Linked DNA regions of Homo sapiens: regions 2, 3, 4 and 5 are each linked to region 1. The links are contacts of gene promoters, found by promoter capture Hi-C in blood cells and fetal thymus (Javierre and others, 2016). All regions are on one chromosome and are shown on one strand. The core of a region is centred on a gene start or on the middle of the fragment in contact, and the rest is flanking DNA. Distances in the headings are between cores, read along the strand shown. Region 1 holds the start of SNX14 (sorting nexin 14). Region 2 holds the start of ASCC3 (activating signal cointegrator 1 complex subunit 3). Region 3 overlaps CCNC (cyclin C). Region 4 holds the start of PNISR (PNN interacting serine and arginine rich protein). Region 5 holds the start of EEF1A1 (eukaryotic translation elongation factor 1 alpha 1).

Evidence for each region. Contacts are between HindIII fragments. The CHiCAGO score rates a contact against its expected background, and 5 or more counts as called.
Region 2: the fragment with the promoter of ASCC3 here is called in contact with the fragment with the promoter of SNX14 in region 1 in 1 of 17 cell types (total B cells); the score reaches 5.0 in total B cells.
Region 3: a contact is called between a fragment that was not itself captured here and the fragment with the promoter of SNX14 in region 1, in 1 of 17 cell types (monocytes). The highest score is 6.6, in monocytes.
Region 4: a contact is called between the fragment with the promoter of PNISR here and the fragment with the promoter of SNX14 in region 1, in 2 of 17 cell types (activated CD4 T cells and total B cells). The highest score is 5.9, in activated CD4 T cells.
Region 5: the fragment with the promoter of EEF1A1 here is called in contact with the fragment with the promoter of SNX14 in region 1 in 2 of 17 cell types (non-activated CD4 T cells and total CD4 T cells); the score reaches 8.6 in non-activated CD4 T cells.

The regions. Positions count from the first base shown.
Region 1 is chr6:85,591,018-85,597,169 of GRCh38, forward strand. SNX14 (sorting nexin 14) reads right to left here and starts at 2,841. Exons shown (of 29, transcript NM_153816.6): 1 at 2,562-2,841. The coding sequence starts at 2,701. RefSeq lists enhancers at 1,332-1,917, 1,918-2,501, 2,502-3,085, 2,534-2,703, 3,014-3,133 and a silencer at 2,764-2,983. The HindIII fragment of the contact is 2,215 bases long and covers 2,104-4,318 here.
Region 2 is chr6:100,878,802-100,884,953 of GRCh38, forward strand. ASCC3 (activating signal cointegrator 1 complex subunit 3) reads right to left here and starts at 2,528. Exons shown (of 42, transcript NM_006828.4): 1 at 2,260-2,528. LOC107984041 (a long non-coding RNA gene) reads left to right here and starts at 2,656. Exons shown (of 8, transcript XR_007059692.1): 1 at 2,656-2,853. RefSeq lists an enhancer at 2,372-2,491. The HindIII fragment of the contact is 1,558 bases long and covers 1,451-3,008 here.
Region 3 is chr6:99,556,329-99,562,480 of GRCh38, forward strand. It overlaps CCNC (cyclin C), which reads right to left. Exons shown (of 12, transcript NM_005190.4): 3 at 5,269-5,353; 4 at 5,039-5,108; 5 at 2,169-2,220. It also overlaps the pseudogene TSTD3. Among named protein-coding and RNA genes, the nearest start is that of CCNC, 9.3 kb to the right of the region's middle. The HindIII fragment of the contact is 2,286 bases long and covers 1,746-4,031 here.
Region 4 is chr6:99,422,920-99,429,071 of GRCh38, forward strand. PNISR (PNN interacting serine and arginine rich protein) reads right to left here and starts at 2,389. Exons shown (of 12, transcript NM_032870.4): 1 at 2,296-2,389. It overlaps PNISR-AS1 (PNISR antisense RNA 1), which reads left to right and starts at 1,952. Exons shown (of 3, transcript NR_125843.1): 1 at 1,952-2,195; 2 at 2,305-2,468. RefSeq lists enhancers at 1,690-2,210, 2,031-2,500, 2,192-3,391, 2,211-2,730, 2,731-3,251 and 3 more and a silencer at 1,867-2,047. The HindIII fragment of the contact is 21,108 bases long and covers 1,829-6,152 here.
Region 5 is chr6:73,517,574-73,523,725 of GRCh38, forward strand. It overlaps EEF1A1 (eukaryotic translation elongation factor 1 alpha 1), which reads right to left and starts at 3,459. Exons shown (of 8, transcript NM_001402.6): 1 at 3,427-3,459; 2 at 2,310-2,483; 3 at 1,764-1,943; 4 at 1,359-1,655; 5 at 1,125-1,275; 6 at 781-1,037; 7 at 457-691; 8 at 1-361. The coding sequence starts at 2,453. The coding sequence ends at 237. EEF1A1-AS1 (EEF1A1 antisense RNA 1) reads left to right here and starts at 6,038. Exons shown (of 5, transcript NR_187283.1): 1 at 6,038-6,152. RefSeq lists enhancers at 1,797-2,619, 2,577-2,876, 2,620-3,441, 3,167-3,276, 3,327-3,406 and 1 more and silencers at 3,987-4,216, 5,924-6,063, 6,104-6,152. The HindIII fragment of the contact is 5,848 bases long and covers 916-6,152 here.

The DNA of each region.
Region 1 (6,152 bases), core at 1,591-4,090:
TAGTGGTACTTTGTATGGATCCCATGGTATTCCACTCGGATTTCTGACTTCATAGGGGTCAGTGGCCCTAATCTCTGCACTGTTCAAGGATCAACTTCATATAAAATTATTTTTTATTTCAGAATAGATGTACCTAGTATACCCCATCTCAGAAGGGCCCATGTTTTCTTGTATAACAACATTTCAGAGATACTCTTATCATCTGTGTGTGTGTGTGTGTACGTGAATACACACATAAGTTTTTTTTTTTTTAATCACACATATACACTGAAAAGCATGCTACATACACCATCTGGCACCTTCCAAAAGATTTTTCCTGGAAAAGGGATACATAATCATGGTTTTATTCAAGACAGTTCTAGTGTTTAAAATCACTTTTGCTGACTACAGCAGTAACAAATGGAAAACACCAAAACATATGCAAAAACAGCTTCACTCATAAACCCAACCACTCAGGTAACATTTACCTGTATTTCCTACCTTCTCTGCATAAAAGAAATACAGGGTACAGGTTAGATGGTATACAGATCAGATGGCATCCTATGACTTTTTAATAACACACAACACTAAATGTTATGACCATAAGTAGATGACCTCAGAAATCTAGTTTAACCTGCTCCTACTAGATGGCTCTCCTACCTTAGAAACCTAAACTGACCCAGTTCCCAAAAGAGGTAGGTAAGAATCCATGGACAAAAGTTAATCATATGGGCTGCGTGCAGTCGCTCACGCCTGTAATCCCAGCACTTTGGGAGGCTGAGGTAGGTGGATCACTTGAGATCAGGAGTTCGAGACCAGCCTGGCCAACATGGTGAAACCCCCGTCTCTATTAAAAATGTAAAAAAAGTAGCCGGGCATGGTGGTGCCCACCTGTAGTCCCAGCTATTCTGCAGGCTGAGGCATGAGAATCACTTGAACCTGGAAGGTGGCTGTTGCAGTGAGCCGAGACCGCATCACTGCACTCCAGCCTGGGCAAGAGAGTGAGACTCCGTCTCAAAAATAAAAATAAAAATAAAAATCATATGAAGCTTACATTTCTTTCATACTAAACCTGTTAGTCTAGCTTGGAATACCTTCCAGATGACAGAAAGCAAATAATAATTAGTGTTCCCTCTGTTAAGGATCCCACTTCTCCCACACTCCTACAGTTCAAACATCTCACCATCACAGAGCACACTTCTCAGTAAAACATCAACTACTATTTAAGCTCAATAATATTTAAACCAAGAATCAACAAGAAAGCAAGGCCACTTTTAGGGAAGAAATCTAACTTCAACATAGTCACAAATAATGGTTACACCAGAGAAAAATGAAGTTACCAAATTCCTTGCGCATTCCTCCCTGTTGCTATCCTTGGGAATCAACTACCTTAAGATAAAGAGTAAGAATGGTTGCCTGTTCAAAACATCAGAGAAAACAGCTTGCGGATGCTGTCAATGAGAACTATCTCAGATTTCTTTCCACCAAAAGCAAATCTGGTGTTAATTTTAATGGAAAAGTCTCCTCTACTACCTATTGCATCGCAACAATTTCTTGAAATAGTAAAATGAAGTAAAACAAGTTTATTTCGGGGGCAGAATCTTCTGATTTCAAAATGTCAATTGAATTTATCAATTTTAACCTTTCGGAATATTTCAGGTTTTTTTGGGGAGGGTGGCATCAAGTCCTCTTAAGAATATTATAGGGATGTGGCCGGGTGCGGTGGCTCACGCCTGTAATCCCAGCACTTCGGGAGGCCGAGGCAGGCGGCTCACGAGGTCAGGAGATCGAGACCATCCTGGCTAAAACGGTGAAACCCCGTCTCTACTAAAAAAAAAAAAAAAAAATACAAAAAAATTAGCGTGGTAGCGTGGTGGCGTGGTGGCGGGCGCCTGTAGCCCCAGCTACTCGGGAGGCTGAGGCAGGAGAATGGCGTGAACCCGGGAGGAGGAGCTTGCGGTGAGCCGAGACCGCACCACTGCACTCCAGCCTGGGTGACAGAGCGAGACTCCGTCTCAAAAATAAAAAATTCTAAGGATGTTGGGACGGGTACCACTTTGCTTTCTGATTTCTGTCCAACAAATCTTTATGATCGTCTGTTTTATTCAACAATACTGCGGGAAAAGCTTCAGCTGCAAGCTGAGGGGGTGGGAGGTGGGGAGATGGAAGAACGCGCTGCAGGTGTGCGGATTCTGCCTAAAATTGCGGCTACGAACTGGACCTTGAACACTCCTCCGTCAGCTGACTTGACTGCCTGTGTACAGTCTCAATTTGAGCCGACACACGGATTTCACTTTTGAAAAGCAACGAAGATGAAGAACTCGTTTTGAGAAATGGATGAGAAAAAGGTAGCTCAGGAGACGAAGCCTCGGGAAAGGAGGCAATCAACCCCACCCCACCGGCCTGTGCTTCCGGCCTCGACGCTCCGCCGTGCTCCCCGAGGCCGCTCCTCTGCGGAGCTCGCTCTCCCCACTGGTCCCCAGTCCCGCAGCTACGCGGCCTCCGCACGGTTAAGCAGCACGGGCCGGGCGTCTGCACCTTCGGAGAAAAGCCGCCGCCCAGGCTCCGCGCTGCGGCGTTACCTGTTAAGAAGCAGGGAGGCGGCGCTGAGACAGAGCAGCAGGAAGCAGAACAGCGGGTACTGGCGGCAGATCTCGCGTCCCACGTCCAGTCGCAGCCGCTGCTTCAGCTTCTGCCCCATCGTCCGCACCCAGGGCACCATCTCCGTAACGGCGAGGCCGAGACTGCGCTACTGGCTGAGGCAGAGGTCAAGGCGACCCCCCATCCACACCTCGCGTCCCCGCCCCACCGACTTGGCGGCGCACACAGACGCCTACCGGCAGTTAGCCGCCGCAGGCTGAGGTCGCGTCCGGCTGGGCCCAGCCCCACGCCCCCCGCCGCGCGTGCGCGGCCGCGGTCCCCAGCCGACCAGAGGAACGGCCGTAGAACGTGCCCGAAGTCGTCACCCAGCGCAAAGCCTCTAGCGTCTCGCCGCTCCGCCCTCCTGGCCGGAGTAGCGCGCAGTCTTCCGTGGAAACTCTGACAACACTGGCGACCGGCCATTTCCGGAAATCAAAGGACAGCCCCAGCACCCAGTAACTGCCTGTATTGCGGAGGAGAGGGAAGAAGGTTGTAGGGAGCCCGGAAGAAACTACAGCACCCCCGTAGCCGCCGGGCGCTGCCTGAGGGGCAACCGGAGCTCGTGGAGCCCGCTGGGAACTGTAGTCTTCGTGACACGAACCCGCAGAGGGATGGAGCGGGTGGTAGCGCTTCCCCGACCCCGCAACGCTCCGCGCCTCACCGTACACTCGGCTCCGGGTGGGAGCAGGTCCGAGCTTTGCGTGACGCCTAAGGGAGAGGGGGATAGGAGGACGCCTTTGAGTCGGTATTTTAAAAGGGGTGTGTTGGGGGCTGGGGGGGTGGCGAGTAAAACAGCCCTAGAATAAAGACTACAACTCATCAGGCCGCCACCCCACCAACAAAATCTCTTTTGCGCGCTCACGGGCAAGGGTAGAGCTCAATTCACGCCGGCTCCGGGAGCCCAACCAAAATCCGAGTGCTTGGAAGAGGCAGGTTGGCAGATTAGGTAAAATCCCTCTTATAGAGTCTCATGGGGTTTTCCCTTTACTAATTCATCACATTTCTAAATTTTTTTTTCTGTATTGTCCGCTACAGTGAGAGATGCAGGAAGACTATTATCGCGAAAATTTACTTAGGCGGTACAGACACTAAGCACTTTCATTTGACCTTCATGCATTCACCCCATGGTGTAGGTACAGTACTATAGTTTCAATCATTATACAGGCAAATTACTGAGACAGAAAGGAACTTAGGATCATAAAACTAACAAAGCCGGAATTTGAACACGTTCTAAAGACAGAGCCTGTGCCTGTCATCTCTCTTTCCTAGGATCTTATCCTTCAAAGTGGGGAAACAAATGTTTTTTAATGATGTATGTAGTTTCATGAATATTTTCCCGTATTACAAAAACATGGATCTTTAATGATGCATTATTATCCTTTATCAGAATGTACCATCCTGTTCCATTATTGCTAACCACTAAAGTCCATTGATATTACCATCCTTGATGATAAACCTATGCACATTTCTAATTATTTAGAATCAACTTTAATACAATTACTGGGTCAAAGGGTAAAAACAAACATTCTTGATACAGTCAAACTGCTTTGTAGAATGGTGGTACCAACTCCACAGTGGTGTATAAAAGTAAACAATTTCACTGATCCTCACGATTAGCTATTATTGTCTAAACATCACAAATACACTTTTCTGTTTGTGACTAAACCATTTAAAAGACTACAGTGTAACATCATTGGAAAGCTTACCATTTTTTAATATTTCTAGGTACATATTTAAACATTTATTAATTTCACTTTGGCAGTTTTTAAGTATCTTTATCTGTTAATACTAAAATAGGTGTATGTTGAGTGGATCTACATGTATCAAGTGCCTCCTATGGACTTGAGTGCTTTACACTTTTGTAAATTACCTTTTAAAAAACTAATCTCATGACAAATAATGTAAGTTATTAACCTGCCTGGTAAATTATGTTGCCTTTTGTTTAAAACTTTTGCTTCCTTTTAAAGCCTTATTTTGAAATTACTCTTTTCACCAAGAGCCAGTATATTTTAAAGACAAAATGTTTTGAGTTCTGTTCAAAACAGACATCACTACAACATCCAATTAAAAGACTTCTTTCCCATCTGATTTCTTAGAGGCAATTAGAATAAGTTAACTGGACAATAGATAATTTAAATTTCCAAATTGCTCTTATGATTAGAAAAGGAAAAAAAATATAATAAACTTCAGCCATAAGGAAATTCTTTATGGCAGAGAATTTCCACACCTAAAGCATGAAACATAATTCAATTTCTGTCACTACGGACCTCATCTAAGGAAATAACCTTTATTTCATTACATGTCTTTAGCCTATGGTCTAGAACCCACCTTTACACGCACAGAGCTCGAAATTTTTTCCCCAACCTTGTTAAGTTCTGAACTTTGGAGAGGTTATATGGAATATCCACAATCAACCAACCCTGGTTCTGAAACTAGCTCTATCTCCTACTAGCAACATGTTAGCAAGATTAACTTGATCTATCTCACTCCTACCTCAACTCTAAAACAGAGCTATTTTCATAAAACAGGTGGGGGGTGGGGGCTAAAATGGGTGGAAAGTTGGAAAGTGCCTCTTAAATATCTCTGTACAATGCTTAAGACAAAATTTTTTTTTCAAATTTTATGGCTTTATGAACATGACAATAATGAGCTAAACCAATTAGCTTTTATTTGGATTACGACAATCTAAAATGAAAATGACATATTAAATACCTGATTTCTAGGAAAACTGAGGTCCAGAAAGGCTGACTGCCTACGCTAAAGTTCTACATCTGCACTGTCCAATACAATAGTCAGTAGCCACATGTGGCCAGGGAGCACTTGAAATGTGGTTTGTTGTGATGTGTAAAGTACCTGTCACATTTCAAAGACTTACCATGAAAACTGTATTAAATGTAAATTAAAATTAGTTTTAAGGCAATTACATATTAAATGTTTTGGAAATAATTGCCTTAAAGTATTTTTACTTTAATGTAGCTAGAAACCTTAAAATTACATATGTAGCTTGCATTATATTTCTACTACACTGTACTGTTATAGACTCTGCTAGCTGTGGAGAGCCAGTACAATTAAATGTGTAAATCTTTTATAAATGCTACAAAGGTCACATATGTGCTAGGTGTACACTGACAAACTATAAAAAGTTAAAAATTTGATAATGCATTTAAAGGGCTCATAGACATTAAACTGCAATCCAGTAATATGTCCATTATTTTAATGAATATATTTATTGAATAGCAAATAAGTGTAAGGCACTGTGCTAGATGTGGTGGCAGATACATTTAGATGCATTTTTTTCTGACCTCCAAAGGCTTACAATCTAGTGAAGCAAACAAGTCACATAAAATGTTATAAAGGGCAGCGGTTTTATACATAAAGACTGTAATCTTTTTTTTTTTTTTTAATGACAGTTAATGGCAAAAGGGAAATTTTTAGCTATAAGGATCTGGAAAGGCCTGTGGGAAATAATGTGAGCGAAGAATAGGACTTATCTCTGTTTTCACTTATAATTTTCAAAAGTCATGAAGTACTAG
Region 2 (6,152 bases), core at 1,278-3,777, about 15 Mb after region 1:
GTCTGTGACAAAATGTGTATGAGTTTCTCCCCATGCACCAAGCAAACAATCACTTCTGCAGCAGACATCAGATGAGTGTTCTCCAATTCATTTCTGACACTATCTAGAGATACTGTCATATCCCACAGATTGAAGGCCCAATCCCACAAGACTGCCCACCACTTCTGATGCCAATTACAAGCTCCAGGCTTTTTTATCTGTACTTCTGACTGACCAGCTATAAATTGGGGATTACATGACCCCCCTCCTTGGGTTCGGTTAATTTGCTAGAGTGGTTCACAGAACTCAGGGAAACACGTTTACCAATTTATTATAAAGGATATTACAAAGGATACAGATGAACAGATACATAGGATAGGGTAATTTATAAGGGAAGGGAATTTCCATGCAGAACTTCCAAGTACTTCCTGGGCACACCACCTCAAGGAATCTCCACATGTTCAGCTTTCAGAAGCTTTATGAACCCTGTCATTTTGAGTTTTTATGGAGGCTTCACTACATAGGCATAATTGATTAAACCCTTTGGCCACTGGTGATCAACTTAATCTTCAGCCCCTCTCTCACCTCCCTAAGCAGTTAGGGGGTGGGGATGAAAGTCCCAACCTTCTAATAATTCCTTGACCTTTCTGGTAACCAGCCCCCATCCTGAAGCTACTAGGAGCAGCCAGCTAGCTAAGACAAAATTCTTAGTCAATTCATTAGCATACAAAAAGGCAAAATGGGGCCCGTAATCCCAGCACTTTGGGAGGCCGATGCAGGAGGACTGCTTGAGCCTAGGGGTTCCAGAGATACACAGGAGATCAATCAGACCAAAGTGAAGACTGGAAAGAAACTGATTTCTACCTCAAAAGAAAAAGCTTTTTATTTATTTATTTTTTTTGAGGTAGAAACTGAGGTAGAACTGTGAACTTTATATTTAAACAAGCTTTGAAAAAGAAAAACTTACTCTTCTGAAATGGCAAACCACTGGTACATATACTACTTTTTGATCAAAGGCAATATCAAATCATGCTGTTAAAGCAAGATCATCTGTTCCCCTTTCAATGCCAATTACATATATACATTGACAATAACTTTTTCTTTTAAAAGCTTTGTTTTGGTTAACTACAGATCCATGGCATGAGAAAGAACCCTAGTCAAGATTCTGTCTTAAAAGGAGGCTGCTGGATTATAGAAAGTTCATGAGCACAGAGACTGTCTCTCTCTTGCTCTCCTAGGCCTAGCCCAGCGTTTGACACATAGGAAGACTTGAATGAATGAATGACAAAAAACTGTTAAGCAGGGATCAAGAAAGCTGAACCATGAAAAATTAATTTCTCATATAAATAGGATTATTTAGCCTAAGCTTAAGAGCATCTTTAAGGATCATTTTTCTCATGCAAGACTATTATAACCATCATTAAAAAAAAGAGACAACATAAACTGGAGCACAATCCATAGTAAAACCAAAAGCTTAATTCTCAACATTTGAGAACTTTGAGAATCAGAAAAAGGATTTCAATCTATGAAACATAAAATCTGGTGATGGAGAAAATGGCTGTCAATCTCACCTAACCTAGGGAAAGAAAGAAAATGTAACCATGAGTTTGAATGCACAAGTGACAACACATCAAACTTTTACCAGCCCCTAGAATTATGCTTCTTTTAAACCAAAGAATAGCAAATACCATTAGCACACTGCATTCCATGAGTAAGTTAATTTATAAGAAACCTATTTGAAATGACTGCCCAGTACTCACAAAACCTCCCTAGCACCCACATACACATTTATTTATTTCAAAATGACATTATAGGCTCCTTGATTGCGAAATTCACCCACAATCCATCACGGTCAGCTACCTATTTACTTTCCAGTGTGTTGGGGGAAAAATATGAGGAAGATTTCTTTCCCCAAATCTACGTGAAGAAAACGAAGTTATCAAGGCTTTGTAACAGAAAAAAAGAAAACAAATTACCCATGCATGGGACAGAAAAACCTCATCTGGTCACGTTGTGGCTTAACACTTGGACAATATGTAGCTTAGGTTAAGTTTTCTATCCCCAACCCCACCTACAAACTCTAGGAATGGGCGGTATTGTTGCGAGACCCCGGACTCGACCTCATGCCACTGAAAAGGATGACAGGTCGGGACTTGCCCCGGAGGCAGGAAGAGAATCTCTGGCGGGTCGCGTAGCCCGCCTCGCCGTCCCCGCCTCCAGCCAGCTCCCCTGGCCGCGGCGACCCTTCTCGTCCTCCCACCTCCACCTCCACCTCCTCACCTCTCGGCCTGGCTCACGCGTTTCCCATCACTCTGTCAGCTCCTGCCACCGCGCCTTCTTCCCTTTCGGTTTTACTTTAACTTCCCACGCCGGGTGAGGAGCTGAGCGCAGGGCCAAAGATGCGAGCGGGCAGCTGTATCGCCGCGCCCCGTCCGCCCTCCAAGCCGCGCTTGCCGGGGTCGCGCCCAGTCACAGGGAACCGCGTGTGAGGACCATCAGTCAGACAGACAGACGCAAAGACGCACAGACCCGGCGAGGAGGGACAGAGTGGAGCTGGCGCCGGCCTACACGTCACCGCCCCGCTGCAGCGCCAACGTCGGCACGTCGACTCGTCGACTCCGGGCCCTCTGCCCCGCCCGCGTGCGCGCGCCGCTCCGCCTCCCGCCTCCAGCCTCTAGTCCGCTGGGTTCGGAGGAGCAGAGGCGGAAGGTCCCGGCGGCGGCGAGGATGCGCCCCAGGGCGGGAGCGGGACGCTCCACTTTACCCTGGCTGCCCGCAACGGGCCAGGCCTGCCGTCTCTACCTCTCTACCTGTGAGTTTTTTCCCTGCATTTACTTCAGTCTGCCGCGTCTTCTCCCCGCCCTTCTCTGTAAGGTAAATATGTGGAGGAAATAATTCCTATTAAAGGTAAAGGAAAGGAGAGCAATTTGAATGAAGAAACAGGTAGTTGCTATCGTCGTTTTCAGCCAAAGCCCTCTGGCTGCTAGAGAGTATACATGGTTCTCTGGTGTCAAGGCCTGTTTTCCATAAGCTTTCTGGATTCTCAGCTTAGTTCCCTCAAAGTGATCTCTGCAAGTCGGCTCTTCGGTCAGAAGACCTCCTCCAAAAACAGAAAGCCCAAAGATTCCCTAACTCGATTGAAAAGATAGGAAGATACGAAGAAAAACTAACCTAAAGAATTGTGTGGTTTATCTGCAAAGAGTTCTAGACTAAAAGCCAACAATGCAAAGATAGTATGAGTTAATATGTTTGTTGTGGCTCTCTTCTGCCATTCCCGCTTCCTCAAGGTAATGTGCCCCGATGCCTGGTAGAACTGTTTTGTAGAGGCAGCCAATAGTGATCCAGTTATTGTCTTTACTGGTCAGACCACCTCTGAAGTGCTGTGTTCAGCATTTGAAGACTTTAATCAAGCTGGCATTATATCAGGGAAGAGCAAAATGATGACGAGAACTCAAAAACAGGGCAAGTGAAGAAGGATTGATTAAACCTTCCAGGACTCACCTAGAAGAGAGAAAACTACTGGACTCTCTCCAAATATGAAATGACCTATCATGTGAAGTTGATTTGTTTCATGTGATGCAAACTTCAGGGAACAGATTTAAGATCCTGAAAAGAAGATGCCCTTGTAGCACGACCCAAAGAATTGCCTACCTTAGCATGTGTGAATACCTCAACCACAGAATTTTGCTTCAAGGAGATTCTGAAGCTCACTTAATAGGGACTTGGTACAGGGGAGCCACACATCAACAGAATAATTAGTTGATGGTTTTGTTAAAGATATTTCCAGTCTTGAGATTACATGTGTCTTTGGTCCTGGACTTCATAGAGTTTACAAGTTAGTTCATGAGACAAGACAAATGCATCACAAAAATAAATAATGCAAGGAGGCCAAGTGATAATGAGAGGTGCTGATAAGTGCTAGGAATTCACATGACAGATTATTCCCATCACAGTTCCAGAGGCTTAAGGGAGAAGAGAGGAACTGAAAATAGACTACCTAGAACTGCCCTATCCATTGGGGTAGCCACCAGTTAAATACGTCTCTTGACATTTGAAATGTGGCTTGTCCAAACTGAGACATGCAATGAGTCCAAAATGTACACCAGATTTCAAAGACTTAGAAAACAAATGTAAAATATTGTAATTCTTATGTCGATTACATGTTGAAATAATATATAATGGATCAAATAAAATATGTTAAAATTAATTTCAACTTTATTTTTACTTTTTATGTGACTTCTAGAAAATTTTTAATTACATAGGTGGCTTGCATCATATTTGTATTACATAGTCCTGGCCTGGAAGGAAATTCAGTTAGCCCTCTGTATCCATGGCTTCTGTATATGTGTCAACCAACTTTGGAACAAAAACAATTGAAAAAAAAAAAAAAAAAGAATGGTAATGTCTGCATTGAACACGCACAGACTCTTTTTTTCTTGTCATTATTTCCTTAACAATATGGATGTAACAACTGTTTACATAGCATTTCCCATTGTATTAGGTATTATAAGTAACCTAGAGATGGTTTAAGGTATATGGGACAATGTGCATAGTTTGTATGCAAATACTATACCATTGTGTGTAAGGACTTGAGCATCCTGGGGTTTTGGTATGTGGGAGTGTCCTGGAACCAATCCCCTGTGGACACTGAGGGATGGTCTTACTTCATTGAACTCTAAGAGCTATCTTTGTCCTCTTTATAGTCCCCAGGGTTTCCCCATTTTTTTTTTCAAGAGATGGGGTCTTGCTGTATTGCGCAAGCAGAAGTGCACTGGGTATTCACAAGCATGATCATTGTGCACAACAGCCGTGAACTCCTGGGCTCAATGATTCTTCTGCTTCATCCTCTCAAGTAGCTAGGACTACAGGTACCTGCCATCAAGCCCAGCTTCCCCAAATGTTAGTGGAAAGACAACCTAATGAAAATGGCCCTGATGACAAAGAGAAAGACCGTCCAGAAAGTATGCCATGAGCAAAGACAAGAAACAAGACTATAACTGCATTCTAGATAATGAAAACCTATTTATCTGTAATGGAACATTGTTAATAGAAGGTAGTGACAAAGTTAAAATGTAAACAAACTAGTCTATAAGGAGACTCAATTTTAAATTTAAAGAATTGAGTATAATAGGCAGTCAGTGTTTGGCAGTCACAAAATGGGATTGGGAGATTACTTTGGCAATATTGGGTAGGGTGGGTTGAAATTAGTGCATGGCTGGGAAACCAATTAAAACTCATTGCAGTGGGCTAGGCGCAGTGGCTCACCCCTGTAATCCCAGTACTTTGGGAAGCTGAGGCAGGAGGATCACTTAAAGCCAGAAGTTCAAAAGCAGCCTGGGCAACATAGGAAGACCCCCATCTCTACAAAAAATAGAAAAAAAATAGTCAGACTTGATGGTACATACCTGTAGTCCTAGTTACCAAGGAGACTGAATTTGGAGGCTCTCTTGAGGCCAGGAGTTTGAGGCTACAGTGAGCTATGATCATGCCATTCAGCTCCAGTCTGGGCAACAGAGCAAGACCCCATCTCTAATTGAAAAACAAAACAAAACTCCACATTGCATTTAAAAATATATCATATGGCTGGGTGTGGTGGCTCACAGCTGTAATCCCAGTACTTTGGGAGGCTGAAGCAGGTGAATTGCTTGAGCCCAGGAGTTTGAGACCAGCCTGTGCAACATGACAAAACCCTTTCTCTAAAAAAAAAAAAAAAAAAAAAAAAAATGAAAATTAGCTGGGTGTGGTGGCATGCACCTATAGTCCCAGCTGCTCAGGAGGCTAAGGCAGGAGGATCACTTAAGCTGGGAGGTCAAGGCTACAGTGAGCCATTATCGCACCCTTGCACTCTAGCCTGGGTAACAGTGAAACACTGTCTTAAAAAAAAAAAGTATCATACCAAAAAAAGGCTCAATATTGGATTTATTTAAATAAATTGTAATACATCTCTAAATATAGAGGCATTAAAAAAGTATAATGTGAATCTGTATTGCTTGATATGGTAATATGTCCAAAATGTACAGTTGTATGAAAGAGCTTGCAACACAATCTATACATAATATGAACACATTTAGGTAAAATTATATATGTTTGTGTGTGTCTTCTGTATGTGTGTAACATGATTATTTTGCAAAGAGTGCCTTAAATTATCTCAAAATTGTCTCAAGAACAGAAAA
Region 3 (6,152 bases), core at 1,639-4,138, about 14 Mb after region 1:
TAATCACACAATATTTGTCTTTGTTACTGGCTTATTTCACTTACCATAATGTCCTCAAGGTTCATCCATGTTGTGGGATGTAAATAACTTCAAAATTTGTCTAATTCTACCTGCCCTCTCCTCCAATTCATCTTACATAATTCTGTCAGATTTACCTTCCTAATGCACAATGCTAGCATTACCCTCATGTGTGAAAATAAATAAAACTGGCCAGGCACAGTGGCTCACGCCTGTAATCTCAGCACTTTGGGAGGCTGAGGTGGGTCAGATTTACCTTCCTAATGCACAATGCTGGCATTACCCTCATGTGTAAAAATAAATAAAACTGGCCAGGTGCAGTGGCTCACGCCTGTAATCTCAGCACTTTGGGAGGCCTGAGGTGAGGAGTTTAAAACCAGCCTGGCCAAAATGTTGAAACCCCATCTCTACTAAAAATACAAAAATTAGCCCGGCGTGGTGGCACACACCTGTAATCCCAGCTACCAGGGAGGATGAGGCAGGAGAATCGCTTGAACCTGGGAGGCAGAGGTTGCAGTGAGCCAAGATCGTGCCACTGCACTCCAGCCTGGGCGGCTGAGCGAGACTCCATCTCAAATAACTAACTTTCATTACTGTCAATAGAACAAAGTGCAGATTCCTTCATTTAGCATCGAAGGCCCTCTATTAGCTGAAATTAGGTAAGGAGTTTTCCCCACTATTTCCTTACTCACCATTCAGTTAATCTAACTCATGAGCTTTCCCTATTTGACTAAACTATTCAGTGTTCTTAGACTGTCTATCTCTTGCATTTCCCCAGTTCAACTTCCTTCACCAAGTTCTACTTAATCCTTTCTGGATTCATGAAACAATCTTTTCCCACCCAAAACATTCACAGCATTCTCTGTAACTCTCTTATACTATTTATTTCCTTCTGTATTAATATTTTTATGTTTCTGTCTTCTTTTTTTGTCCTTAAATTCCTTGTATTTTACCTTGGTACCAATGCCACTGCATTGGCACAGTGTTTTCCAGTGATAATGATGTTGTTGTCATTGAAGATGATGATGATGATGATAGCCCCTAAAGTTTACCAAGTATTGTGGACCAATATATGTCCCCCTCCAAAATTCGTATGTTGAAGCCCTAACTCCTAGTACCTCAGAATGTGACTGTATTTGGAGAGAGGGTCTTTAAAGGGATAAGATTAAATGAGGACAGGCCAGACATGGTGGCTCACACCTATAATCCCAGCACGTTGGGAGGCCGAGGCTAGCGGATCACGAGATCAGGAGTTTGAGACTAGTCTGGCCAACATGGTGAAACCCCGTCTCTACTAAAAAATACAAAAATGAGCTGGGCATGGTGGCACATGCCTGTAGTCCCAGGTACTCAGGAGGCTGAGGCAGGAGAATCACTTGAACCCAGGAGGCGGAAGTTGAAGTGAGCACTCCAGCCTGGGCGACAGAGCGAGACTCTGTCTCAAAAAAAAAAAAAAAAAAAAGAAAGAAAAAAAAAAGATTAAATGAGGACATAAGAGTGGGGCCTAATTCTGTAAGACTATTGTCCTCACATGAAGAAGACAGCAAACCAGGAGTGTGTGTGCTCACAGAAAGGTCCATGTAAGAATAGCCAGACACCTTGATCTTGGATTTCCATGCTCTAAAACTGTGAGAAAATACGCTTCTGTTGTTTAAGCCACCTGTTCTGTGGCATTTTGTTATGGCAGCCTCAGCAAAGTAACATACTAAGCAAGGCACTGTTCTAAAAGCTTATATTAACTCATTTGGTCCTCATAACAACCCAACAACACAGGAACGGGTTTGCACATAGATATTAATATCTACCCATAAGAATGACATAATAGTCATTAGAAAACAATAAAATACAATAAAATTCGGAAACAGAATTTTTTCTTTACTCTTACAAGATTAAAAGCCACTGAGTTGATGTTTTTGGATTGATAATTACTATCCATTTTAACATTAAAAGTAATATCTTTATATCTTTTTAAAAAAAAACCTTTTAGCTTGATTTTTTTGCCAGATACACTAGATATAAAGTTATCCTCAGGAAATTTAATAAAGCCAACCAATCTCATATGTCTCATAAACTAAAAAAAAAAAAATCTATGTACTCTGGAGCTTTCTTTAGAATTACATCCTTAAAGCAGATATACTTTTTGCACTTACATACAGAAGTAGCAGCAGCAATCAATCTTGTATTTGAAACTACTCCAAATTCCTAAAGAAAGAAAAGCAGGTACATGTTAACCCAATGAATCTAAGGGTATCTGAACTCTATTCAAAACAGGATTTCCTTGCTCCTGTTTACAATCTGTTCACCTTCTAACTACTTGAGGTGTGAAGTACTTACACTCCTAAATGTACAGGCTGATTACCCCTTATCTGACATGCTTAGGATCAGAGATTTTTCTGATTTAGGAATATTTTGCATTACACTGGTTGAGCATCCCTAATCTAAAAATCTGAAATGCAAAATGTTCCAATGAGCATTCCTTTGAATGTCATGTTGGCCCTCAAAACGTTTCAAATTTTGGAGCATTTAGGATTTTCAGATTACGGATATTCTGCCTGTATTACCTCTCCCCCAAATTGCTACAACTTAAGACATATTTTAAAATAATTTTATAATTTAATAACAATAAAAGGTACCAAATTAGAAACCAAGCCTTAAGGTTACAGTGTCAGTTTTTCCATTTAAATTAGTTTCCAAGAAGATTGTTTACATTCTATACTTAATTGCAAGAATATTAAGTATGTTTCCTATTCAATTCAACCTGTATTAACAGATACTTCATGCCATTCTATGGTAAAACAGTTGAATTTGTGAATAAGATAAACCTTAATTAATCACCAAAAGAACTAAAAAAAAAAAAAAACCATATAAATAGTTACTATCCTTTTTAGAACAGGGAGACAGGAATTACGTAAGACTTCCAAAGTCAGTTCCCATTTCCTCTTTCAACTGAACAACCACCATTGTGAAAATACTAAAATTTATTATGATCCACCTTATATATACTGTTTCATTTATTGCCTCGTAAGATTTCTAAAGCCTTCACTTCATTTTAAAATAAAAAAATCAAGAGTTGGTTTCTTATCCAACAAAAGGAGCTAAACTAAAAATCTATTTAAATACCTTCAGCCTACATCCTTATCCTGTGTAGGGGAAATGTATGTGTACTAATATATTTGTTTTACATTTAAACCTCCAACTATAATAACTGAAAAGAAAAAGTAAAAGCCTGAGACATGTTCTTAAATGAGCTTTCCATACAATTTCCATAAAACTAGAGAAAATACAGAAAGATTTGGTCACAGAGATAAAAAAAAAATAATAATAATGCTACGACCAAATCTGAAAGACTACATTCTCTTTCTCAGGAATAATTCTTTTTTTTTTTTTTTTTGAGATGCAATCTTGCTCTGTCACCCAGGCTGGAGTACAGTGGCATAGTCTTGGCTCACTGCAACCTCCACCTCATGGGTTCAAGCAATTCTCATGCTTCGGCCTCCCTAGTAGCTGGGATTACAGGCATCTGCCACCACATCCGGCTAATTTTTGTATTTTTAGTAGAGACGGGGTTTTGCCATGTTGGTTAGGCTGGTCTCAAACTCCTGACCTCAGGTGATCCACCCGCCTGAGCCTCCCAAAGTGCTGGGATTACAGGTGTGAGCCACTACACCCGGCCTAGGAATAATTCTTTATCCAAAACTCAAAGGGAAAACTTTCATTCAGTAAATCACATCACAGAGTTCTACTCAGTAAATCACATAACAATATTTAACAAGTAAGATAGATTAAAATCCTCAAATTAATCTACAAGATTAAATGTTTATAAAGATTTTTTGTCTTGGTCCTCCATACTGCCTGTGCTTAAGAGACTTTAAATTATTACATGGTAATATTTAAATAAAATCAAATATTACATAGAATTATTAGAATTAGAAAACTCAATCCATAATAAGGACCTTAACTGATTCTGCCTTCTTAAACTACCACTCACAATTAGAAAACATAAACTTCTAGAAAGCTTGTCTTAATATTATTTCTAACAGAGTCAATTGTCATTATTTAGGTAACAGTTGGGAAAGATGTCATGGATAACCTTAAATCATGGCTAAAACAAAACTAAATCAAAGTGGGTGCCAAAAGGAATGTAAACTTACTAGGTAAAAATCACATTCAATATTCAAGAATACAACTCTAAGAATAGAACTCTAAGACATTATCCAAAAATAGAAACATAATGCAAAGATTTCACACCACCAAAGACTACATTATTTATGAAAAACAGCCAATATCTGCTATTATTTTCTGGACTTTAGCTGAGCTCTTTCAAAAATACTACAAAGGTAAAACAGTTGAACAGAAATTCAGTCTCTGCCGCAAGTTCCTATCTATCTTCTCTCCCTTACCTAATTTCTCTACGCTCACAACCTCAACTTTTACTTGTTAGACTCTATATAGCTATAGCTTCCCCTAATCCTTGCCTTCCTTCTGGCTTGGTAGGCAGCCAATCATCAGGATGATGGGAGGGAAGACAGGAGAAGATAAGCATATGGGTGAGAAGCATAAGGGACATTCTCAGGTTATGGTAGGCAAGCTGTGGTACTTACTGAATACTACTCAGTGCCAAACAATAGATGTCTCAAAGGCAGCAGAGGAAAGTAGTTAAGAACACAGGATTGGTAACGAGACTCCCATGGTTCAAACACGGGCTCTCACACTTACTAGCTATATCATCTTAAGCAAGTTCTTCATCTCTGTCTCAGTTTCCTCATTTATAAAATGGGAATACTACTACTATGTATTCCAGTTTGTTACAAAGATTAAGTCAGTTGGTACACAGTAAGTGCTGTATGTGTCTGTTAAGTGAATATATAAGGATATGTATATATTTCTTTGATTTTGTACAATTTTAGTATTTTGCATAAATTACCATTTATTAATTTTACATAGGCCATGTGAAAACTGGGGCAGATTAACCAACATACATTGACTACACTTTGATGAAGAACAGAAAATTGTTTTATACCTCTACTTTGGATGCCAAAAACACACATGTAGGAGCCATTAATACAGGATCTATACTTTTCAGAGAATACCTAAAATATGATAAAACAAAGTTAAATATCATTCATACAGAAAACACACTGGGAAAAAAATCAAGATAACTCTATGGTAGACACATGATTCATTTACACTGTGCTAAGGTTCATCAACATTAGATAAGAGTTCAAATAAATAAAATAAAAACAATCCTACCTGGCATAGAATCTCTTGAAATATACCGTAGCAGTGGCAATAACTTGTTGTCTTAATTTAAGATGTTCACCTAATGCTTGGATAACTAAAAGGCAAATAATGAAATTTTAAATGTATCTTCTGGTATCATTATAATATTAACATTGAACAGTAACTTCCATGTGGTTAAATCATAATTATGTTCATTTTTAACAAAGGAAAAAACCTACACATGCTCTATGTGAGTCACAGTGGTCTAATTCTAGGATTTGCAAATGTGTTAAGAAATATATAGGTATGCATAAACAACAACAAAACAACAACAAAACAGAAATTGCCCCACAGGAAAAAATTATTCATCCATTAAGGAAGTTGAATAAATATTTCCCCTCTATCTTCTAAATATTTTTAATGCTTTTCATAGTATCTTTATAATAAATATAAAAAGAAAATATTAGACACCTATGAAACTTGTTAATACTACCACTTTTTTTGTTGTTTTGAGACAGAGTCTCGTTCTGTCGCCCAGGCTGGAATGCAGTAGCACGATCTTGGCTCACTGTAATCTCCACCTCCCAGGTTCAAGTGATTCTTGTGCCTCACCACGCCCAGCTAATTTTTGTATTTTTAGTAGAGAGGGAATTTCACCATGTTGGCCAGGCTCATCTCAAATTCCTGGCCTCAAGTGATCTGCCCACCTCTGCCTCCCAAAGTGCTAAGATTACAGGTGTGAGCCACCACACTTAGCTTTATACAGCTCACCAAAATAAATAAATAATACATAAAAATCCATAACGAATCCTCAAAAAAAAGATAAGTTTACAAAATAGTGAACCGAAAGTTAAAAAAATTATGTGACAAACCTACTACATGTCAGAGTAAAGATCTATCCCTACATCTTCTTC
Region 4 (6,152 bases), core at 1,139-3,638, about 14 Mb after region 1:
TTATAAATACCCCCCCAATAATAATTTAAAAATAAATGTAGCGAGAGCGCCCAAAATGACACCCTAGTAGCAACAAGCACACCTAGGCACGAGAACTTGGTTTTAATACCATTCTTCAATAAAAGGAATCAGAGATCTTTAAAGAAATAGCTGACTCTAGGACTGCGACAGGAAATATAAAAGATGAGTCTGGGGCATGTATACTGCCAGGAAGCAATAAAGTGCTAAAAAAAAAAAAATTGATAGGAACATGTCAAAGGAGAACAGTAGACAACTCGAAGAGCTGCCAATGGCCAAAGCTGGTACAATTTGAGCAACAAAATAAAGAAGTACTGGATTATAATATAAGTTATGTAATAAACATCCACAAGCCCATAAGGATATGATAAAATAAACTAACAAATAAATGTGAGGGAAGACACAAATCTCCCACAGAGAATTCCAAATAAATTATGTAAATATTCCACCCTAACTGAGGAAGAGCACAACTGTCCATTCAGTAAGCGTGGGCTCTGCAAAGTGACTTCCTTCCAAAGAGAACAGTATAAAAAGGGGTGGGGGAAGTAACTTTACAGTGGATAAATCTAACAAACGCTACTCCAGAAGGATGATCAAGGTCAGTAATAATGTGATAAGTCACCTTGATAGTATGTATCCTTGATAGCATGTGTTGAAAAGGGCATCTTACCTCTGTGATCTTCCCCTGATATAGTCCGTAAGGCCATTTTAATCATGAGAAAATCGTCTGGCAAATTCCAATAGCAGGGCACCCTACAATATACCTGACCATACTCCTCAAAAAATGTCAAGGTCACTGTATTAGTTTGGTATGCTTGCCATAACAAAGTACCAAAGACTGGGTGGCTTAAGCAACAGAAATTTATTTCCTCACTGTTCTGGAGGCGTATAGTGTAAGCTCTATGGGGTTGATTTCATTCTAAGGCCTCTCTCCTTGGCTTGTGGATGGTTGTCTTCTCCCTATGTCTTCACATGATCATCCCTCTGTATCCTACTCTCTTCTTATAAGGACAGCAGTTATTAATATATTGGGCTAAGGTCCACCCTAGTGACCTCATCTTCTTTAAAGACCCTCTCTCCAAATACAGTCACGTTCTGGGGTACTGAGGTTAGGACTTCAAGATACGAATTTTAGAGGGGCACAAGTCAGCCCTTAACAGTCATCAAAAACTAGTTAAGCCTGAGAAACTGTCACAGCCAAGAATATACAGCCTAAGAATATACAACAACTAAATGTAATGTGATATCCTAGCTGGCATCCTGGAACAGAAAAAGGACTTTAGGTAAAATGTGAGGAAGTAGGAATAAACTATGGACCTTAGTTAATAATTTATCATTATTGGTTCATTAGTTGCAACAAATGTACCATACTAACATCTATTAATAAGAAGATAAACTGTGTGTGTAGTGGGGACGTCGTATGTGCTCAACGTAAACAAAAACTGTTCTAAAACATAAAGTCTATTAGTAAGTTAAAAAAAAAAACTCTCAAGAACATCTTTAAAGAACTGTTTTCTCTATAAGCCCTTTGCCACTTTACAAAAAAATTCCACAAGTAAAATCTTTAGTAGTCTGGTTGCTGTTGTTTTCGCCCTGCTGCACTCAAATGAGGAATTCTAAGTTTATTTTGTTTTACTTGGGGGCAGGGGGAAGTAAAAAGATGTAAAAGATTAATGTTGAATTAAAATCTTAAGCTAGAATGTTAATTTAACAACCCACAAACAAATTTGTCTAATGCTCAATTTGTTCAGATGACGATACTATCCACCACAGGGTAAAAAACTGAAATATTGGATACTACCTTTAGCGAAGCTTAACACATAATATCCATCATTGGGTAAGAACACACGAAAAACACAAACTAAGGAACTGCGCCTGCGTAGTCAGAGCCTCAAAGGGTATAAGCTCCAGGTCGCGAGCCCCCGCCTCCTCCGCCCCCATGAACCCCCTTCCCACAAGGGGGTTCCCACTGCGCACGCGCAGTGTTTAACGGCCGGTCAGGAACCCAACAATTAGTCCCTTCTCGTCCGAGAGGAAACTCTGTGAGAAGATGGGACCGTGAGCACTCTCTTTAACAAGGACATTTCCTTTTCAGCGAAAGCAGCGCTCTGATTTACCAAGTCTGGCGGACCGCAGCGCTTTAAAGGAATGAGGTTCCAGCGGTCGCGCCAAGCAGCGTACGCAGCCTATTTTAAGTTATGCTACCTTCGCCACAGAAACCAAGAACGTTGTAATGGTCCGGCAAGTGCCCACGTATAATTGTTCTCCATCACTTACCCACTCTAGTTCGGGAACACCCTTGTCGCCGCCGTTCCGGTAACACCTCTCCAACGCTTTCGATGCTTCTACTTCTTCGGGAACAAGACAAGATGGCGCCCGATTTGTCTCACCCGGAAGTAAAGAATAATAACATCCGTTTGTCATCTGAAGCCATACCATCTCTCATCCAGGTTTGTGAACACGTGATTGTGCGGATTGACATGTTTCGGCGCCATTTTTTTTGTGGGCAAAACCATCTCTACTCTGGTCAACACCGGGCAACTGAACCATTCCTGCACGTTACTTTTTAACGTAGCTGGCGCCATTCCCGACCCATCTTTATAGTGGCCAGAAAGCCAAGAACGTAAGTGTTCTACACATAGGGCGCCTTCAAATTTTTTACTTTAGCAACGTGATCTTCCTTTAAGGGGAAGTATGTTCCCTCCTAGAAACACTCCCGCCTTGGAGAAGGGGTTGAGTTCGCAACTCCACTTACAGACTACGGAGGAACCCCAGGGTCAAACCAAACCAAACCAATTCTGGCCAGTTGCTTAGCGCAGTTCAAGTTACTTAGTGCGCTGGAAGCGGCATTTCAGGCAATCCAACTTCTGGCTCGAACCTTCTCGGAGTATTCCAAGGATGGAATACTCTCACTTGAGCGCTGCCGAGGGTGCCGCTTGAGGAAAACGTGAGTTTGTGAAGGTGAGCAGTCTGGGTCGGTAGCGAAAGCGGAGACCTTAGCTGACCCCGCAGCTGTCTTTCTCTTTGTTAACCTCAACACATCGCGCCCCCTTCCGGGAACACTTGCTCTTCTCTCCTTGGCTTAACTAGTCCCGGTTTTTCATTCTTTATCCGTGACTTTTAGGGAACCGTGGGGGGGAAGTCTGGTTTCCGTCCTGCTGCTTTCCTTCAACTACAAGATGGCTTCTCAAAAGGACGCATGCAATGCCATTCCTCAAAGACAGTATGTTGATTTCACAGTGTTTTTATATGAACAACGTTCAAGTGTCAAAAGTATCAATTTCCAGGCTAGGAGCTACAAGTTAAAAGGAAAACAAAAATGTTCCAAAGATACAGTGTTTATTAGCTACATCTTGGGAAGTGCCTTTCCAGAGAGTAACATGAAAACTTCTGCGTGACAAAGTGCACGAAGTATCTGAATTATTTCATTGGGCAATTGTCGTGCAAAAGAAATAGCAAATTACCGTAGAAACAAAATAGTAAGAGCACAGCTAGATGGATAAAGATACAGATGTGAAAATATAGATGCCCTTTGCATGAAAATTCAGTTTTCCTCAGCACTAGAGACCCAGATACTCCTGAATTAGCATTATAATAAAGTCGTCACTAGCTAACCATCTGCCTTTCCTCCAATCCACGGACGTGGTCCTCAAAATAACATTTTATCTTGTGAGAAACCTTCATTAATTACACCTAACAACACCATGACGCAGGTTCATGAGGATACTACTGAAGGCAAAAGGAAATCCCTATTTCTCTGACCCTTTCCCTAATTTCCACTTAGCACAAATAAGACTACTGGACAGTCTGATTTTAAAAAATCACTGTATGGGCCGGGCTTGGTGGCTCCCGCCTGTAATCCCAGCACTTTGGGAGGCCGAGGCGGGCAGATCACTTGAGGTCAGGAGTTCAAGACCAGCCTGGCCAACATGGTGAAACCCCGTCTCTACTAAAAATACAAAAATTACCTGGGCGTGGTGGCAGGCGCCTGTAATCCTAGCTACTAGGGGGGCTGAGGCAGGAGAATTGCTTGAACTCAGGGTCAGAGGTCGCAGTGAGCCGAGATCCCTCCACTGCACTCCAGCCTGGGCAACAGAGTGAGTCTCTGTCTCAAAAGAATAAAATAAATAAAAACCACTGTATGGAGCAAAAACTAGAAGGACATATACCACATGTTATCAGTAATCTCTAATTTTGCTCTGTGATTTTGTGCATTTTCCAAGTTTTTTGCATCAGGTCTGATTTTCAAGTTTAATTCTCTGAGAAACATTCTCATCAGAGGAATGTTCTATCTTCTTAGAGAAACCTGATTGGCCTAGTGAAACTGTCATGTTCCTACTCTCTATAATCATATTGTAATTCTTTGCTTGTTTCCCTAGTAAAGGTGAGGCAATTTTCGGGTAAGGGATTTCCCCCTCACCTCTGCCCTCCAAGTGGCCAGCATCTGCTTTGCACACAGAAATTTTTACATCTGCTATATGTTTGCATTAATATGTTCAACAATGATCCTAATGTAGGCCAGTCATTTTGGAAATGCATTGTGAAGTGGAGAGGATTATTAAATACCTCACATTTTGTTCCTTGTGCCAGTTTAATGAGACACCCTCAGCAATTGCTATTTACCAGACCAGAAAATGAATTTTACAGTTCCAATTCCAGTTCCCTTTCTCTAACCACTCTGTTCTAAGAGTTCCCCGTAACATTATGATCTTATGGACACATCAGGTAAGTGTATGTATTTCAACACAGAATTTTCTAAGAATGTGTGTTGTGGTGTTAAATTTCTATGTAAGCAGCTGTCACGTGCATGATCTGCTGCAGTTTGATCATCCTGCGCCTGGATCATCAAATGCTTAGCAGCCATCATTTTACCAGTCTTATCTGACAATCTGCTGTTAATGACTAACAACCAGGGGACTTTATAGGTTAAAATTTTTATTAACTTCCTCTGTTTTCAGTGTTTAAAGTAGAAAATTTGGCCAATGTGGCTCACGCCTGTAATGCCAATACTTTGGGAGGCCAAGGAGGGTGGATCACCTGAGGCCAGGAGTCTGAGACTAGCCTGGCCACCATGGGGAAACTGCCTACAAAAAAATACAAAAATTAGCTGGGTGTGGTGGCCCAGCTACTCAGGAGGCTGATGCATGAGAATCACTTGAACCCGGGAGGTGGAAGTTGTAGTGAGCCGAGATCGTGCCACTGCATTCCAGCCTGTGCTACACAGCGAGACTCTGTCTCAATGAATGAATGAATGAATGAATGAATGAATGGAGTGAAGTAGAAAATTCTAGGGGAGGACATGTCACCTTCCATTATTACAGAAACAAATTATCCTTAAAGCAAAATGGAAATAAGCTAAGTAAGATGATATGTGGAAAATATATCGAAATAGGAACTATTGCTGTTTCTTGAGATTTGAACCTTTATAGTGTTATTAGGTGCCATATCACATCCATCTTAAAACCTAATAAAAATTTAAAGCTGTGGTATATATATACAATTGAATATTATTCAGCCTTAAAAGGGAATGAAATTCTGATACATGCTACAATATGGATAAACCTTGAAAACATGCAAGATGAAATAAACCAGACACAAAAGGACATATATTGTACAATTTCACTTATATGAAGCGCCTAGAATGGGCAAATTCACACAGATGGAGAGTAGAATAGAGGTTCCCAGGAGTTGGGAGAAGGCGGGAATGAGAAGTTACTGTTTAATGGGTACAGAGTTTCCGTTTGGGATGATGAAAGAATTCTGGAAATGTGAATGCACTTAATGACCCTAATTATACACCTAAAAATGGTTAAAGTGGTAAATTTTATGTTGTATATATTTTACCACATAATACAATGGAGGATGAAAAATATTTAAAGCTAGTATGCTACAGGCACATCATTACAAATTACAACTTTTTTTTTTTTTTTTTTTGAGATGGAGTCTCACTCTGTTGCCAGGCTGGAGTGCAGTGGCGTGATCTTGGCTCACTGCAACCTCTGCCTCCTGGGTTCAAGCGATTCTCCTGCCTCAGCCTCCCAAGTAGCTGGGACTATAGGCGCATGCCACCACGCCCCGCTAATTTTTGTATTTTTAGTAGAGAAAGAGTTTCACCATGTTGGCCAGGATGGTCT
Region 5 (6,152 bases), core at 2,209-4,708, about 12 Mb before region 1:
GTTTCCATTAAAAAGTACTGATTTTAAAAACTAATAACTTAAAACTGCCACACGCAAAAAAGAAAACCAAAGTGGTCCACAAAACATTCTCCTTTCCTTCTGAAGGTTTTACGATGCATTGTTATCATTAACCAGTCTTTTACTACTAAACTTAAATGGCCAATTGAAACAAACAGTTCTGAGACCGTTCTTCCACCACTGATTAAGAGTGGGGTGGCAGGTATTAGGGATAATATTCATTTAGCCTTCTGAGCTTTCTGGGCAGACTTGGTGACCTTGCCAGCTCCAGCAGCCTTCTTGTCCACTGCTTTGATGACACCCACCGCAACTGTCTGTCTCATATCACGAACAGCAAAGCGACCTATTAAAAAAAAAGTTAATTATTACCCAAAGTACTGTTCAGTTGTATTTTTCATCTTTAACACAACTTTTTTACATTTAAGTAGTCATCCTTACCCAAAGGTGGATAGTCTGAGAAGCTCTCAACACACATGGGCTTGCCAGGAACCATATCAACAATGGCAGCATCACCAGACTTCAAGAATTTAGGGCCATCTTCCAGCTTTTTACCAGAACGGCGATCAATCTTTTCCTTCAGCTCAGCAAACTTGCATGCAATGTGAGCCGTGTGGCAATCCAATACAGGGGCATAGCCGGCGCTTATTTGGCCTGGATGGTTCAGGATAATCACCTTGGAAAAAAGATTTGCATTCAGTGCAAATCCAAAGTCTCAAATGACTTTAGCCTCTGCAATAAGTTAATGTTACTTTAAATTGTTACCTGAGCAGTGAAGCCAGCTGCTTCCATTGGTGGGTCATTTTTGCTGTCACCAGCAACGTTGCCACGACGAACATCCTTGACAGACACATTCTTGACATTGAAGCCCACATTGTCCCCAGGAAGAGCTTCACTCAAAGCTTCATGGTGCATTTCGACAGATTTTACTTCCGTTGTAACGTTGACTGGAGCAAAGGTGACCACCATACCGGGTTTGAGAACACCAGTCTCCACTCGGCCAACAGGAACAGTACCAATACCTAAAAATATTTACAGCATACTAAATACCTATGAAGGCAGACAGTACTCTATCAACTCAAATTCAACTTTGTTTACAGCCAACTTACCACCAATTTTGTAGACATCCTGGAGAGGCAGGCGCAAGGGCTTGTCAGTTGGACGAGTTGGTGGTAGGATGCAGTCCAGAGCCTCAAGCAGCGTGGTTCCACTGGCATTGCCATCCTTACGGGTGACTTTCCATCCCTTGAACCAAGGCATCTGAAACACAAGCATGCCAATTTGTGTAAGCATGAAATCGCCATTCCCAGAGCTTTTTAACAATGGTCTTGAAAGCCACTTACGTTAGCACTTGGCTCCAGCATGTTGTCACCATTCCAACCAGAAATTGGCACAAATGCTACTGTGTCGGGGTTGTAGCCAATTTTCTTAATGTAAGTGCTGACTTCCTTAACAATTTCCTCATATCTCTTCTGGCTGTAGGGTGGCTCAGTGGAATCCATTTTGTTAACACCGACAATTAGTTGTTTCACACCCAGTGTGTAAGCCAGAAGGGCATGCTCTCGGGTCTGCCCATTCTTGGAGATACCAGCTTCAAATTCACCAACACCAGCAGCAACAATCAGGACAGCACAGTCAGCCTTTAAAGAAAGCAAAGACATATCCCTGTCAACTCTCCAAATGACAAAACCAGTGTACAAAGCAAGCCTTTTGGGATAAAGAAACCTAGAATTATTAATCCCACCAACCTGAGATGTCCCTGTAATCATGTTTTTGATAAAGTCTCTGTGTCCTGGGGCATCAATGATAGTCACATAGTACTTGCTGGTCTCAAATTTCCACAAGGAGATATCAATGGTGATACCACGTTCACGCTCAGCTTTCAGTTTATCCAAGACCCAGGCATACTTGAAGGAGCCCTTTCCCATCTGTAAGGATTAAGAGTCGTTACTTGGTTACTAAAACACAAACTCCAGCTTCAATTTCCTTGTCCCCAGCCCTTAATTGGCAGTTTCCACTTTACAACTCCAAGTCCAAAGTGATTTTAGTCACTTTGGGTTACAGAAGCAACCAAAAATCAAACTTTTATAAGTCGGATCTTAACTATTAACATCCAAATCTACTCACTAGCAATACGATTACAGAAGTCACCAAAAGCAAAATTATTTCATAAGTAAGGTCTTAACTATTAGCATTCAGATCTAAACCACTCACTAGTTCTGGGGAAATCACCTAATGATTCTGCTGGTAAAACTCATTTTAGTTGATCTTTCCCTTTCTGGTATTAAACATACCTCAGCAGCCTCCTTCTCAAATTTTTCAATGGTTCTTTTGTCGATGCCACCGCATTTATAGATCAGATGGCCAGTAGTGGTGGACTTGCCCGAATCTACGTGTCCAATGACGACAATGTTGATATGAGTCTTTTCCTTTCCCATTTTGGCTTTTAGGGGTAGTTTTCACGACACCTGAAATGGAAGAAAAAAACTTTGAACCACTGTCTGAGGCTTGAGAATGAACCAAGATCCAAACTCAAAAAGGGCAAATTCCAAGGAGAATTACATCAAGTGCCAAGCTGGCCTAACTTCAGTCTCCACCCACTCAGTGTGGGGAAACTCCATCGCATAAAACCCCTCCCCCCAACCTAAAGACGACGTACTCCAAAAGCTCGAGAACTAATCGAGGTGCCTGGACGGCGCCCGGTACTCCGTGGAGTCACATGAAGCGACGGCTGAGGACGGAAAGGCCCTTTTCCTTTGTGTGGGTGACTCACCCGCCCGCTCTCCCGAGCGCCGCGTCCTCCATTTTGAGCTCCCTGCAGCAGGGCCGGGAAGCGGCCATCTTTCCGCTCACGCAACTGGTGCCGACCGGGCCAGCCTTGCCGCCCAGGGCGGGGCGATACACGGCGGCGCGAGGCCAGGCACCAGAGCAGGCCGGCCAGCTTGAGACTACCCCCGTCCGATTCTCGGTGGCCGCGCTCGCAGGCCCCGCCTCGCCGAACATGTGCGCTGGGACGCACGGGCCCCGTCGCCGCCCGCGGCCCCAAAAACCGAAATACCAGTGTGCAGATCTTGGCCCGCATTTACAAGACTATCTTGCCAGAAAAAAAGCGTCGCAGCAGGTCATCAAAAATTTTAAATGGCTAGAGACTTATCGAAAGCAGCGAGACAGGCGCGAAGGTGCCACCAGATTCGCACGCGGCGGCCCCAGCGCCCAAGCCAGGCCTCAACTCAAGCACGAGGCGAAGGGGCTCCTTAAGCGCAAGGCCTCGAACTCTCCCACCCACTTCCAACCCGAAGCTCGGGATCAAGAATCACGTACTGCAGCCAGGGGCGTGGAAGTAATTCAAGGCACGCAAGGGCCATAACCCGTAAAGAGGCCAGGCCCGCGGGAACCACACACGGCACTTACCTGTGTTCTGGCGGCAAACCCGTTGCGAAAAAGAACGTTCACGGCGACTACTGCACTTATATACGGTTCTCCCCCACCCTCGGGAAAAAGGCGGAGCCAGTACACGACATCACTTTCCCAGTTTACCCCGCGCCACCTTCTCTAGGCACCGGTTCAATTGCCGACCCCTCCCCCCAACTTCTCGGGGACTGTGGGCGATGTGCGCTCTGCCCACTGACGGGCACCGGAGCCTCACGCATGCTCTTCTCCACCTCAGTGATGACGAGAGCGGGCGGGTGAGGGGGCGGGAACGCAGCGATCTCTGGGTTCTACGTTAGTGGGAGTTTAACGACGGTCCCTGGGATTCCCCAAGGCAGGGGCGAGTCCTTTTGTATGAATTACTCTCAGCTCCGGTCGGGGCGGGTTGGGGGGGGTGGTGACGGGGAGGCCGCCTGGAAGGGACGTGCAGAATCTTCCCTCTACCATTGCTGGCTTAGCTCCAAAGGTTGTATTGAGATTAGGGTGTACCTTCGCCTCTCAATCAGCCTCCCGTCCTCAGCCTTGCCATCTCGCTAGTCCGGGACAAATCCCTAGAGCGTCTTCCTCTGCGGGTCTCAGCCCAGCCCGGGGTTGGCTCCTCCTCCGCCCCGGCTTCCGCGCCCCTCCCGTGTGGCAAGGAGTACCAGGCCCGGGGACCCCGAGGGGCTTGGGGCGAAGGGTCGGGACTGGGGGCCTCCTTAACGGCTCACGGACTTGCGAGAGGTTCGGCTCGATGGCCGTGAAAGCGACGAATCCGCTCCTGTGCTGGCCTCTTGGCTCCTTCCATTCAAAGCCAGCTGCTTTTATGGAAGCCCGTAACACGTCATCTCCCCCTGGTACTCCAGATGTCCAGGCTTTCAGTTTAGAATAGACTCAGTCCTACAGTTAGCTTTAGATCTAATTCTAGTTTTGTTACGCCAAAAAGTTCCTGCGAGTGTGTGTGTGTGCCTCATGGTACTTTTTAAATTAAAAGGTGTACAGTTATTTGATTGCAAACATAAGGAACCTAAAATGCTTTCAGATTTTCCACATGATCTCATGTAGAGGCTAAGATCTACAGCATCAGCAAGTTTATCCACCCAGTTTCCTAACCCCAACACTTGCTATGAAGTCACAGCTTCTCCTATTTAAATAAGTGCCTATTATATTTAAATAAGTGCTGTCGTTTTCTGTCATCCTATCGATTGTAACTGCATTTTAGCATAAATCTAGGGCAAGATTGGATGAGCTTGGCCTTTTTGGATGGCTATCAAGGCAGGCCTTGGGAAATGCTCCTCTGAGGAAAGAAGAACGTTTATTTTTAATGAGCTAATTACTAGATCATTATGTTTCTTCTTCCAGCTGTAGAATATCATTGCCCAGCTTCTCGAACAAACTTATTTATTAACAAGTATTTGAGAACCTACTATGTGGCCAACGCTAAGTACTGTGGAGTTCCTTCTGGAGAGGAAACCACAATCAAATTGGAAGAGGAAAACAAGTTGGGAAGCAGTTGAAGGCAAACGCTATGGTGCTTTCTTGGTTTCTGTATCTTTGTAGTGTAGTTTTTCTAGTCCTTTCAGTTTTCACAGTCCACTTTTTTTTCTTTCTTTCTTTTTTTTTTTTTTTTTTGAGACGGAGTTCTACTCTGTTGCCCAGGCTGGAGTGCAGTGGCGCGATCTCGGCTCACTGCAAGCTCTGCCTCCCGAGTTCAAGCGATTCCTCCTGCCTCAGCCTCCCAAGTAGCTGGGACTACAAGCGCGCCCCACAAATTTTTGTATTTTTAGAAGAGACGGGGGTTTCACCATGTTGGCCAGGCTGGTCTCGAACTGCTGACCTCAAGTGATCCACCCGGCTCGGTCTCCCAAAGTGCTGGGATTACAGGCGTGAGCCACGGTGCCCGGCCACAGTCAAAGTTTTTCCTCAAGCCCCTGTGATTGCGGATAATAGTAAACGCTTTATAAATACCTTACACAGAATGTTTTTTAAAATATCACGCAAGGAATGACAAAATTACATGAATCCTTGATTTATACCTAAGTAACATATTGTGCAACACAGACTGGGTGTTCTGAATGTTGCGATAGTGGCCGAGACTTTCATTAGGTGAAGGGAGATCTCAATTCTCGCGTTTAAGAACCAACACTGGACCGGGCGCGGTGGCTCACGCCTATAATACCAGCACCTTGGGAGGCCGAGGCGGACGTATAATTTGAGGCCAGGAGTTCGAGACCAGCCTGGCCAACATGGTGAAACCCTGTCTACTGAAAATACAAAATTAGCCGGGCGTGGTGGCGCATGCCTGTAATCCCAGCTACTTGGGAGGCTGAGGCAGGAGAATCGCTTGAGCCCGGGAAGCGGAGGTTGCAGTGAGTCAAGATCACGCAATTGCACTCCAGCCTGGGCGACCGAGTGAGACCTTGTCTCAAAACAAAACAAAAAACCAATACCTTTGAGCCCATCGGAGCCATATTATTGTGCGTTAGGGGTAGTCACTGGCCACGAGCATTTTCTCAGGGCAGAGATCACATTTCTGCTCTCAGTGGGGCCGGGGTGGGCCGGAAGCCGGAGAGGGACTGGAACGCCGGTCCGGGGAAGCCCCGCGCGCACCGGGGCGCACCCTGCTTCCTAGGGAGGGAGGCTGGGGCGGCAAGGCGGGCGCGGGTGGTCCTTGCCCCGCGCCAGCTCGCCAGGCCACGTCGCTGGCGTTTTTCCAGCGCTGGGTCACC